Regions from separate parts of the Homo sapiens genome. Here region 1 is linked to region 2. The links are contacts of gene promoters, found by promoter capture Hi-C in blood cells and fetal thymus (Javierre and others, 2016). All regions are on one chromosome and are shown on one strand. The core of a region is centred on a gene start or on the middle of the fragment in contact, and the rest is flanking DNA. Distances in the headings are between cores, read along the strand shown. Region 1 holds the start of LOC101929154 (a long non-coding RNA gene). Region 2 holds the start of OTP (orthopedia homeobox).

Region 1 (4,643 bases), core at 707-3,206, 250 kb before region 2:
CCCTCCTCCTAAACATTAGAAAATGGTCATACCTGGCCAGGCGCAGTGGCTCACATCTGTAATCCCAGCACCTTGGGAGGGCGAGGTGGGCAGATCATGAGGTCAGGAGTTTGAGACCAGCCTGGGCAACATGGTGAAACCCCGTCTCTACTAAACATACAAAAATTAGCAGGGTGTGGTGGCAGGCGCCTGGAATCCCAGCTACTTGGGAGGCTGAGGCAGGAGAATCACTTGAAACTGGAAGGCAGAGGTTGCAGTGAGCCGAGATTGCACCACTGCACTCTAGCCTGGGCAACAAGAGCAAAACTTCTTCTCAAAAGAAAAAAAAGAAAAGAAAAGAAAAAGGGAGAAAGAAAGAAAATGGTTACTACTTTTAGACAATGGAACTCAAGCCTAAAAGAAGTTAGATTTCTTTCTGGTCTACCAGTAAGTTTGGAAAAAGTTGAGAAAGATGTGTAAAGTAATAAGCATATTAACCAGGGATGGTTGTTATTTTTATTTGTAATATCCCTTTTCAAACAATGAGCCAAGAATGGCAATCACAATAGAAAAGACATCTCATGCACAGAAGACTAACTGGAGTTTTAGGCGGGAGACTGGAGAGTCATTGCTAGCTTGTATGAAGTAAGCAGGTGGTTTAATGAACTGTAGTATTTACTCCCAGAAATCTGGAATTTTCTTTGTTCTTATGCCTTATATTTCAAGAAAAGCTTTATTGCTATAGAGGAGGCAACAACGTTCAGTAGCATGAAGGCAGCCTGTGGCATTCCCTACCTCTAGGGGTCAAAGAGCCTAACACTGTAGATGGATTTAAAAGGTGGCTAGAAAATTCTGTGGCAAATATTAGCATTTGCTGTCATGCATGTTAAAAGACTGGTAATCAAATCTCATGCCTCAGAGAGTGAATGAATACTGCCAGGGTAAGCCTTCTTTCTCCCGCTCCTCCCTCCCCATGCTCCCGTCTCCACTACAGGAAACGTGACTGAGTTGATGGGAAGGGAAAATGCTCTTGCCATAGCTCATTGAAATCACACAATTCCCTGTGGCTCAGGACCTAGGAGGGGAATTGGGAGGTACAAAGAGAGGAAAGTCAGGTTTCTCAGCCCTGGGATTCTGGCTGCTGCCCTTGAAGTTTTTCTGGACTGACAAGACGTTGAGGTCTGCAGGAAAGACAAGGCTTGATGACAACCTCCTAAGTCTAGGTAAGTCCTAGGCTTTTTCTGGGGGAGACAGCCCTCCTGAGAGGTTGCAGCCCTCCCCCATATCATCTGGGATTTGGCCTCGCTGTTATCCCAACCACCTGGGGAGAAGAGAAGACTGGCCATCTTTGTTTTCTCCTTTCTCCCTTCCTTCCTCCTTTCTTCCCTTTTTCATCTTTGTCTTCCCTCTTCCTCCCTCTACAGGGAAGAAAGAACATCTGTTTCTCTTGCTCCTTCCCCTTAGAGGTTCCATAGGACCCCAGTGCCCATGAAGTCACTGGAAAAATCAGCTCTTTATTCCCCAGGCAAGAGGCTTGCTTAGGAAGCGTCTGGGCTGCAGGTCCTGTGTAGTGCCAAGGTCAGGTGTCCTCAGGACCTTGGCTCTCCTCATTCCAGCATCTTCTCCCTTGCCCTCTCTACTTGACCCTTCCCTAACACACAGAGGAGCTCTAATATTTTCCAACAGAAAACACAACCAGTCAGACATCCCCCGTGTGCCCATGAGCTCCTCCAACTGTTCTCTCTCTGCTTTCTGAGAGCCACATTTCTCACCAGGCTGACCACAGAATGCTGTTTCTTTCCTGTCTCCCATTCTCAGCTCAGTGGCTCCCTTCCTTTTCCACCCTCCGCCCTCTTCTCTCATCAGCATCAACAATTACCTCTATGTGGTCCCAGCTGCTTTTATCTCTCTTCGTGAGACAGACCTCTCTCCTTCCGGAGCATCCAATTTTTCTTTGCCTGTGACACCTCATTCTTCTGGGTTTCTCCATGACTCCTTCTTCTGTTCAGAGGTCTGGGCTCAGCCCTGGGACTCCTCTCCGTGTTTTCTCTCCCTAGGCAATCTCACCAGCCCACCACTTTCATACCACCTGTGCCGAGTTCTCCCAAGTGTGTATCTAAGCTCCTAACTCCTGTATCCAATGACATCCTCCTATTGGATGTCTCAGAGGCATCTCAATTGCAACCTGGCTGGACCTGAACTCTTCTGATCCCCCCAGATATCAGTAAACCAATTCAGACACCCTGAAACACGAGAGTACCCTTTCCCTTTCTCACTCTGTATATACAGTTGATCCGCATGTCCTAACAATTCTACTCCTAAAACATCTCACAGTTTCACTCATGTCTGTCAATTCACTGCCATTACCCAAGTCCAAGCCACCCACATCCTACACCAGGACCACTGCAATAGCCTCACAGCTGGTCTCCTCACTTCTACTTTTGCCCTCGTTACATTGAACCCATTCTTAAGTGGCACCCATTCTTCTATTTAGCAGTAGACAGATGTGTTAGGACCTAAGTTCGACCATATGATTTATCTGCTGAAAACTTATAAATGGCAATTGCAATTGGAATGCCTACAGGAAGTTGGTCCTGGCCAAGCTCCCATCACTTATGTGTCTCCAGTTTCCCTGTGGTGGCCCCTAACCTCATTTCAATTCTAAGCTCTCTCCCACCACAGGGCTTCCACAAGGTTGATCCCTCTGTCTGAAATGCTCCTTCTCCCACTTTTGGCCTGAATTCTACCAACTTTTCTCAGGTTTCAGTGTAGATAACACTTCTTCATGGAGACTTTCCCCAGCCTCCCAATCTAAATGAGATCCTCCAATTAGGCTGTCTCTTAGTTCCTCGTCTTTTCCTTCGTTTAATTCATTGTAACTTATAAATATTGTGTGTATTTAACTGTTGACTGCCTTGTGCCCATAGGTTCCATGATCAGGGATTATGCCTGTCTCACCATTACAGCCTGGGGCACAGGTCTGTGTCTGCCGCCTAGCAGTGCTCTGTCTTTAGTTAAAGAATGTGTACTAGTCAGGTCAGAACCACCTGCTGGACATCACATGAGAGAAAAATGGGAGGCTGTCCCTACAAATAAGAACCCTTAATAAATCATCTGAGCATTTTAGGTAGTGTTATTCTTTTCCTACCATACCATAAAATGAATTCTTATACCCTTCATAATTATCAAACTCAGATGACAAAGTTCCTGAAAACCAAGCTTTTCTCTTAATTATTAAATGTGCTACTATGTCCTCTCTGGGTGGACAGATTTGCAAGCACTTGAAAATGGTCAGCAGAGCAAGGTGGCTCATGCCTGTAATCCCAGCACTTTGGGAGGCCGAGGTGGGTAGATCATGAGGTCAGGAGTTCGAGACCAACTTGGCCAACATGATGAAACCTCGCCTCTACTGAAAATACAAAAATTAGCCAAGCATGGTGGCGCACACCTGTAATCTCAGCTACTTGGGAGGGTGAGGCAGGAGAATCGCTTGAACCCGGGAGACAGAGTTTGCAATGAGGTGAGATCTCACCGTTGCACTCCAGCCTGGGTGACGGAGCGAGACTCTGTCAAAAAAAAAAAAAGAAGAAAGAAAGAAAGAGAAAGAAAGGAAGGAAGGAAGGAAAGAAGGAAGGAAGGAAGGAAGGAAATGGGCTAGTGGATCAGCACTTGCTGAGCAACTATCACTGAGCTGCAGAGGCAGATTCTGCAAGGGCACAAGGCCTGGCCCAGCTCTTGGGGCATGATCAGCACAGGCAGAAAGGCAGAGTAAAGTCACATAAAACAATATGTACAAGACAAGTTGCGTCAGCCCCAAATCATGTAATATACACATCCTGCACAAATATCTGCAGTGCACAGTCATTGCCTTCCTGTGTGGGCTGGTGAGGTGGTATGTTAAAGAGCTAGGCACAAGTTGGGGCTCCAATCCTGTATTTGTGAAACTCTGGGCAAGCCACTTTATCTCTCTGGGCCTCAGCTTTCTCTTCTGTACAATGAAGATAATAATAGCTCCCCTTCCTGCTTCATAGAAAAGGGAAGGACAATCACCTTTTATTAAGTCTCTTCTTCATGTCAGGTCCTGTAATAGACATGTTAACATAAGGCTCCGGGCAGGGCGCAGTGGCTCATGCCTGGAACCCTAGCACTTTGGGAGGCTGAGACAGGAGGATCCTCTGAAGTCAGGAGTTTGAGACCAGCCTGGGCAACAAAGCGGAATGCCATTTCTAAAAAGAAAAAAAAAAGAAAAAGAAAAAACCCATAAGGCTCTCATCACACTCTTTCAACAATCCTGAGAAGCTGGCATCACTCATATTTTACAAATAAGATGATGGATGCTCCAGGAGGTGAAGTACTGTGTCTAAGCTCACAGCTGCTAAGAAAGAGACCCGCAATAAGAACGCCAGTCTGACACCAAAGTTTATGCTCTTTCTACTCCTGTCCCAGGTAAACGTAAGGCTTGCTAACTAGAAAGTGTGATACAGATATAAGTATCATTATTTTATGAAAATGCCAGGTCAACCACAGTTAGAAAACTGAGTTTTATCCATTCGTTCACAAATATCATTGAATGTCTTTACTGTGCTTTGTGTACTGTGCCAGATAACTCTCAGTATTATCAGAAGCAATGACTTAAGAGAAAAAGTAAAACGACCAATGATCTT
Region 2 (4,674 bases), core at 518-3,017:
CGGCCCGGAGCTTCCCGGGAAGCGGTCTCCGCAGCTCAGAAGAAACTGGTGTGGCCAATACCCTGCATTCACACGTGTGTGCATATGTGTGCGCGCGCACGTGTGTGTGCAGGAGAGGAGGCGAACGGGCTGCAGGAGGGAAGGAGGAAACAAAACTGCCCGAGAGTTCGCTTTGCCGCCTCCTTTGTCTCCTTGCTCGGTCCCTGTCACACATACAGCTGAGGACACACACACACACACACACACACACACACACACACACAATTCCTCTCGCATCTGCTCTCAGCCAGCATTTTCAATGTTTTGTCTAAGTCAATTGGACGGCGAACAAAAAAAGCCATTTGCTCAGTATTATTTAAAACAGACTTCATTGGGCCACCCTTTTGTGGAAGGTTTATTTGCACTAAATGAATAATCTTAATTGCATCACTCTCGAATTAAAAATCAATGTTAATCAAGTTGGGAGTAGTAAATATCAGTTTTCATTGTGACTGGGTAGAGGGCATTTTTCTTGTGTTGCAAATAAAAATACAAGTCAAATAACTTTAAAAGGGCATTATGTTCTGCTACAAATACAATTGAAACGGATTGTTTAGGAGCAGATCAGAAATGGTACAGAATTTTGCACTTAATTTCCTCAGTTATCATTTACAATAAGAACCTCTAGGCTTGACAGCCAAGTCTAAACAGTAGTAAATTAGTACAAATTTATACTGATTTTACTCTAATAATCGTAATAAAAGCTTATAGATTTGGCACTAATTACATAAATGCCTAATGATCTTGAAAATTACTCTGGTTAGAAATATATTACTAATCTAAACTTTGTTGTTGGCTGGCTCTGAAAAATCAGAACATTAGAAATGGTTCGCTTCACTTGTGCAAAGCACTTTAAATTGTTCAAGTAGTTTAACATATTCAAGAGGAAAATAAAGAGCATTTAACTTTATTTACAGCCTTAAGTGGAGTTGGGAGCCGAGCTGAACTTAGAAACTTTGACCAAAAGAGCGAGTTAGGGGCGAGGATGCGGGCGTGGGCCAAGCGGAAGAGCAGGAGCCGGGAAGAAGCCCGGTGAGAAGAGTGCAGAGCGCTCGAACCCACACTCCGCGAGGGTCCCCAAAGCAGACAGCGGGCGCTGGCGGTGCCAGGGAAGCCGACTCCTCTTTGCGCTCTAGGCCCACTGTGGGGTTGGGGCTCGTATAGACCCCAGGGCACAGCCAGGGCGCCTGGACCCTAGGCGCAGGCCTACTGAGCCGCGGCGAAGTCCAGGCGTTGTCTGAAGGCCGCGGTGTGCCCTCGTCGCGCCCTGGGCTGGCGGGCCAATATGAGCGGCAGGCCCAGAGAGCGCAGGTGGGGGCGACCCTCAGGTCACGCCAGGGTCATGGCCCGCTCTGACCCCTGCTCTGCCCCTGCCCTAGGAAGATGTTAGCTCAGAGGCACAGAGCTACGCCTTCGAAGCGCGCAGCGCCGGCCAAGGGGAAGGAAAGGGGAGCCTGGAGAAAATCGCAGGGAAGAACTAGAGGGAGCCGGGCCCAGAAGCTCAGGGCGAGGCCGAGGCGGCTGAGGCTGCTTTAGCTCCTGCTCCGGGCTGGAGCTGCCAGGGCTGCCGCCGCCGCCTCCTTCAGGCGGGCGCAGGCGAGCGGGCGGGCGGAGTGGGGGACTCTCCGGGCGCTGACATTTGCAGGCTGCCCTCCTGATTGGTCCCCTCGCCGAGCTGCTCACGGGTTCATTCAACTGTTAAGCACCTCCCCGTCTCTCTAAAGGACATTATAATGCAAGAAGCCCCCTTTTTAACCACAAACCGAATTTTCTTTCATTTAGGTGATCTATATATATCTATATCGTATAGCTTATAGCTTATATCTATTTTAAATAACTTAAAGCCGCTAAAATTTGGGGGGGAACAGCTTTCGCCCTGGAGCGGTGCGCGATGCTGTCTCATGCCGACCTCCTGGACGCCAGGCTAGGTGAGTGCGCGCCTCTCGCCCGGGCAGCCAGGAGAAGCCGGGGCAGGAAATTGTCAATTTGTTCCTTATTTTACCTTAATGCGACCTAAATGGACTAATTTCTTTAAAAGTAATTGTGCTGCATTAAAGTTTAATTTGATTTAACATCGCCTTTAAAAAAAAATCTATGGAATATGTAGATCCAAGAAAGGAGTTGGGGAATGTTGTTACTTTTTGTTTTTCTTATTTTTCTCTTCCCCCCTCCCCCGCCTTTTTTTTTTTTTCGAAAGGCGATATACCCCGTGATAATTTGTTAGGAGGTGTTTCTCTCTCTTTTTTCCCTCTCCTGTTTGTTTTGATTTGGGATTTCTTTCTCCTTCCCTCCCCCCGTTTCTCTCTCCCCACCATCTTCTTCTCTCCTCCTTTTCTAAGTGTGGTGTAATTTGTAAAAAATCTGGCATAAAGGAGAAGCTGCTGCCATCAAGGCGGATTTGCTAAGTGTGCTGGTTGAGAAGGAGAGAAGCCAAATTCAACCTCACAGTCATCCCCCCCTCTTCTGCAAGGGACTCAGCGTTGCCAATGGCTGTGAGGAATGCGCCTTTTATTTCTCTGGAAAGAAAAGTTGAAATCTCTAAAGTTTGATTCACGGTTGTCCATAGAGTTCACTCGAGTTTCCTTAATGCTATCTGGGTTGCTGAGCTCTGGGTTTCCGGATTGGGAATCTTCGGTGATGGATGTGACTCCATTTTCCAAACACTTTCTCTGATTTGAGGGGGAGGCGGAGCTGATTTGGGTTGATTTCGGGGGGTGAAAGCTTGGAGGCTTATTCATCTTCCGAAAGTAAGAGGGAATCGGCTGAGGGCCGGAGGTACAGTTCGTCAGGCTGCCGAAGCGCAGGTGCCGCAGCAACCGAGGAATTGTTTAATTTTCTTTCTGCCCCCCGCACCCCTGTGTCCAAAGATTTGCTCTCGATTTCCTGGGGCGCCTGGGGTACGGTTTATGGAAGGGATTCAGAGGCATGTTTTATTGCCGGGACTGGGAGTGTTTTATTGTGGGAGAGACGAAAGCTTGTGCTGTTTACTACGGGAGCCGGCTGCGGCGAGGGCAAGGGGCCGGGAGATATTATTCCAACCCGGCTGTCCAAATTCTGGGGAACCCAGCTGAATACCCTGGGAGTTTCTTCCTTAGGACAAGCGCGGGTGCGGAGGGGGCCGAGGACGGGTTGAAGGAAGGCTGCGCGGGGAAGACAGCCCCTCCTGGCATCGCCAAGAAAGTAGTGACCGCGATCCCCTTGCCTCCTCAGGTATGAAAGATGCCGCCGAGCTTCTGGGCCACCGGGAGGCGGTGAAGTGTAGGCTGGGCGTGGGGGGCTCCGACCCCGGGGGCCATCCGGGGGACCTGGCGCCCAACTCTGACCCAGTGGAGGGAGCCACTCTGCTGCCCGGGGAGGACATCACCACAGTGGGCTCTACTCCGGCCTCGCTGGCGGTGAGCGCCAAAGACCCGGACAAGCAGCCCGGGCCCCAGGGCGGCCCGAACCCCAGCCAAGCCGGCCAGCAGCAGGGCCAACAGAAGCAGAAGCGCCACCGGACGCGCTTCACCCCCGCACAGCTCAACGAGTTGGAGAGGAGCTTCGCCAAGACTCACTACCCCGACATCTTTATGCGTGAGGAGCTGGCACTGCGTATCGGGCTGACCGAGTCCCGAGTGCAGGTACGAGGGGCTTGGGATCTGGGACAGAAGGCAAGGACAGGGCGGGAGGATTTGGGCAAAGGGAGCAGGGTCTTCCCTTCCCCTGTCGAGATCCTGGGCTGCTTTCAGGCTGCCTGTGCGTTCCTGTATCGAGTTATCTCCTTCTCTACCCGGAAACTGGTCCCCATCGCCATCCCCCAATGGACACGCAAGGCCCGTCTCCGGCCAGTATAGCGACATCCCGGAAGAAGCTCCTCAAAATCGAAGCCCGGCGTTGTCGGGCTACAGGGTTCGCCTCCTCCGCCTGAGAAGGCAACCTCAGCGCCCCCCCGGGCGGCCCAGCCGAGCGCACACCTCAACTCCTGCTCGCATTATTGACAAATATTACCCCCTAATGAGTTTGTGTTAAGCGTTTGGATAAAAGGAGGAATGCAACAATTATACAGAAAACAAGAGAAAAGAGCAAATAAGGCGAATGAGCGCCTTTTAAAAAAGTGCTACACCCAGGTTTCACGGCGTGGCTTTATTACCTTAAGTATCACCCTCCCTCTGCACTCAGGCGAAATATTCCTAGCTTTGATGTTTGCAAGGGGTTTGAACTTTCGTAGTCTACCAGTGCGCTGGGGGCAGCTGACGAGATTCCCAAAGCCGGTGAGCCCCGTTTTGTTTTGGAGTCCTCTAAGGAAGCTACGGTGGGGGAGGGGAAATGAAGGCTTTCTGTTGTGGATATCATGTCTGAAGAAGGGGCATTCAGAACGGGAAAGGTTGACAGGCAGTAGAGGAAATCATTGCTGACCCCTTATTCTCCTCCAACCACTCTCCAAGCTGTAAATTATATATAACCTAGAAAATCACACCTATAATTATTCTGAAAATTGGTGAATAAAAGTATAAGCCTAGTGAATCCCAGATTTTTGTTTGTTTTTTTTTTTTGTTTTTTAAAAGAAAGAATGAAGACATATCAAATATTTTATGGACAGGTGCCTGGAGGTGAAATTCCAAGCGCCGGTACTCACTCTTGAGCTATCCAGGGTGC

Evidence for each region. The method cuts DNA at HindIII sites, captures the fragments that hold promoters and counts their contacts. A CHiCAGO score of 5 or more calls a contact.
Region 1: a contact is called between a fragment that was not itself captured here and the fragment with the promoter of OTP in region 2, in 1 of 17 cell types (megakaryocytes). The highest score is 6.8, in megakaryocytes.

The regions. Positions count from the first base shown.
Region 1 is chr5:77,882,041-77,886,683 of GRCh38, reverse strand. LOC101929154 (a long non-coding RNA gene) reads right to left here and starts at 2,028. Exons shown (of 2, transcript NR_105012.1): 1 at 1,859-2,028. The HindIII fragment of the contact is 2,488 bases long and covers 713-3,200 here.
Region 2 is chr5:77,635,806-77,640,479 of GRCh38, reverse strand. It overlaps OTP (orthopedia homeobox), which reads left to right and starts at 1,767. Exons shown (of 3, transcript NM_032109.3): 1 at 1,767-1,967; 2 at 3,250-3,659. The coding sequence starts at 1,931. RefSeq lists enhancers at 670-1,224, 1,225-1,781. The HindIII fragment of the contact is 2,017 bases long and covers 746-2,762 here.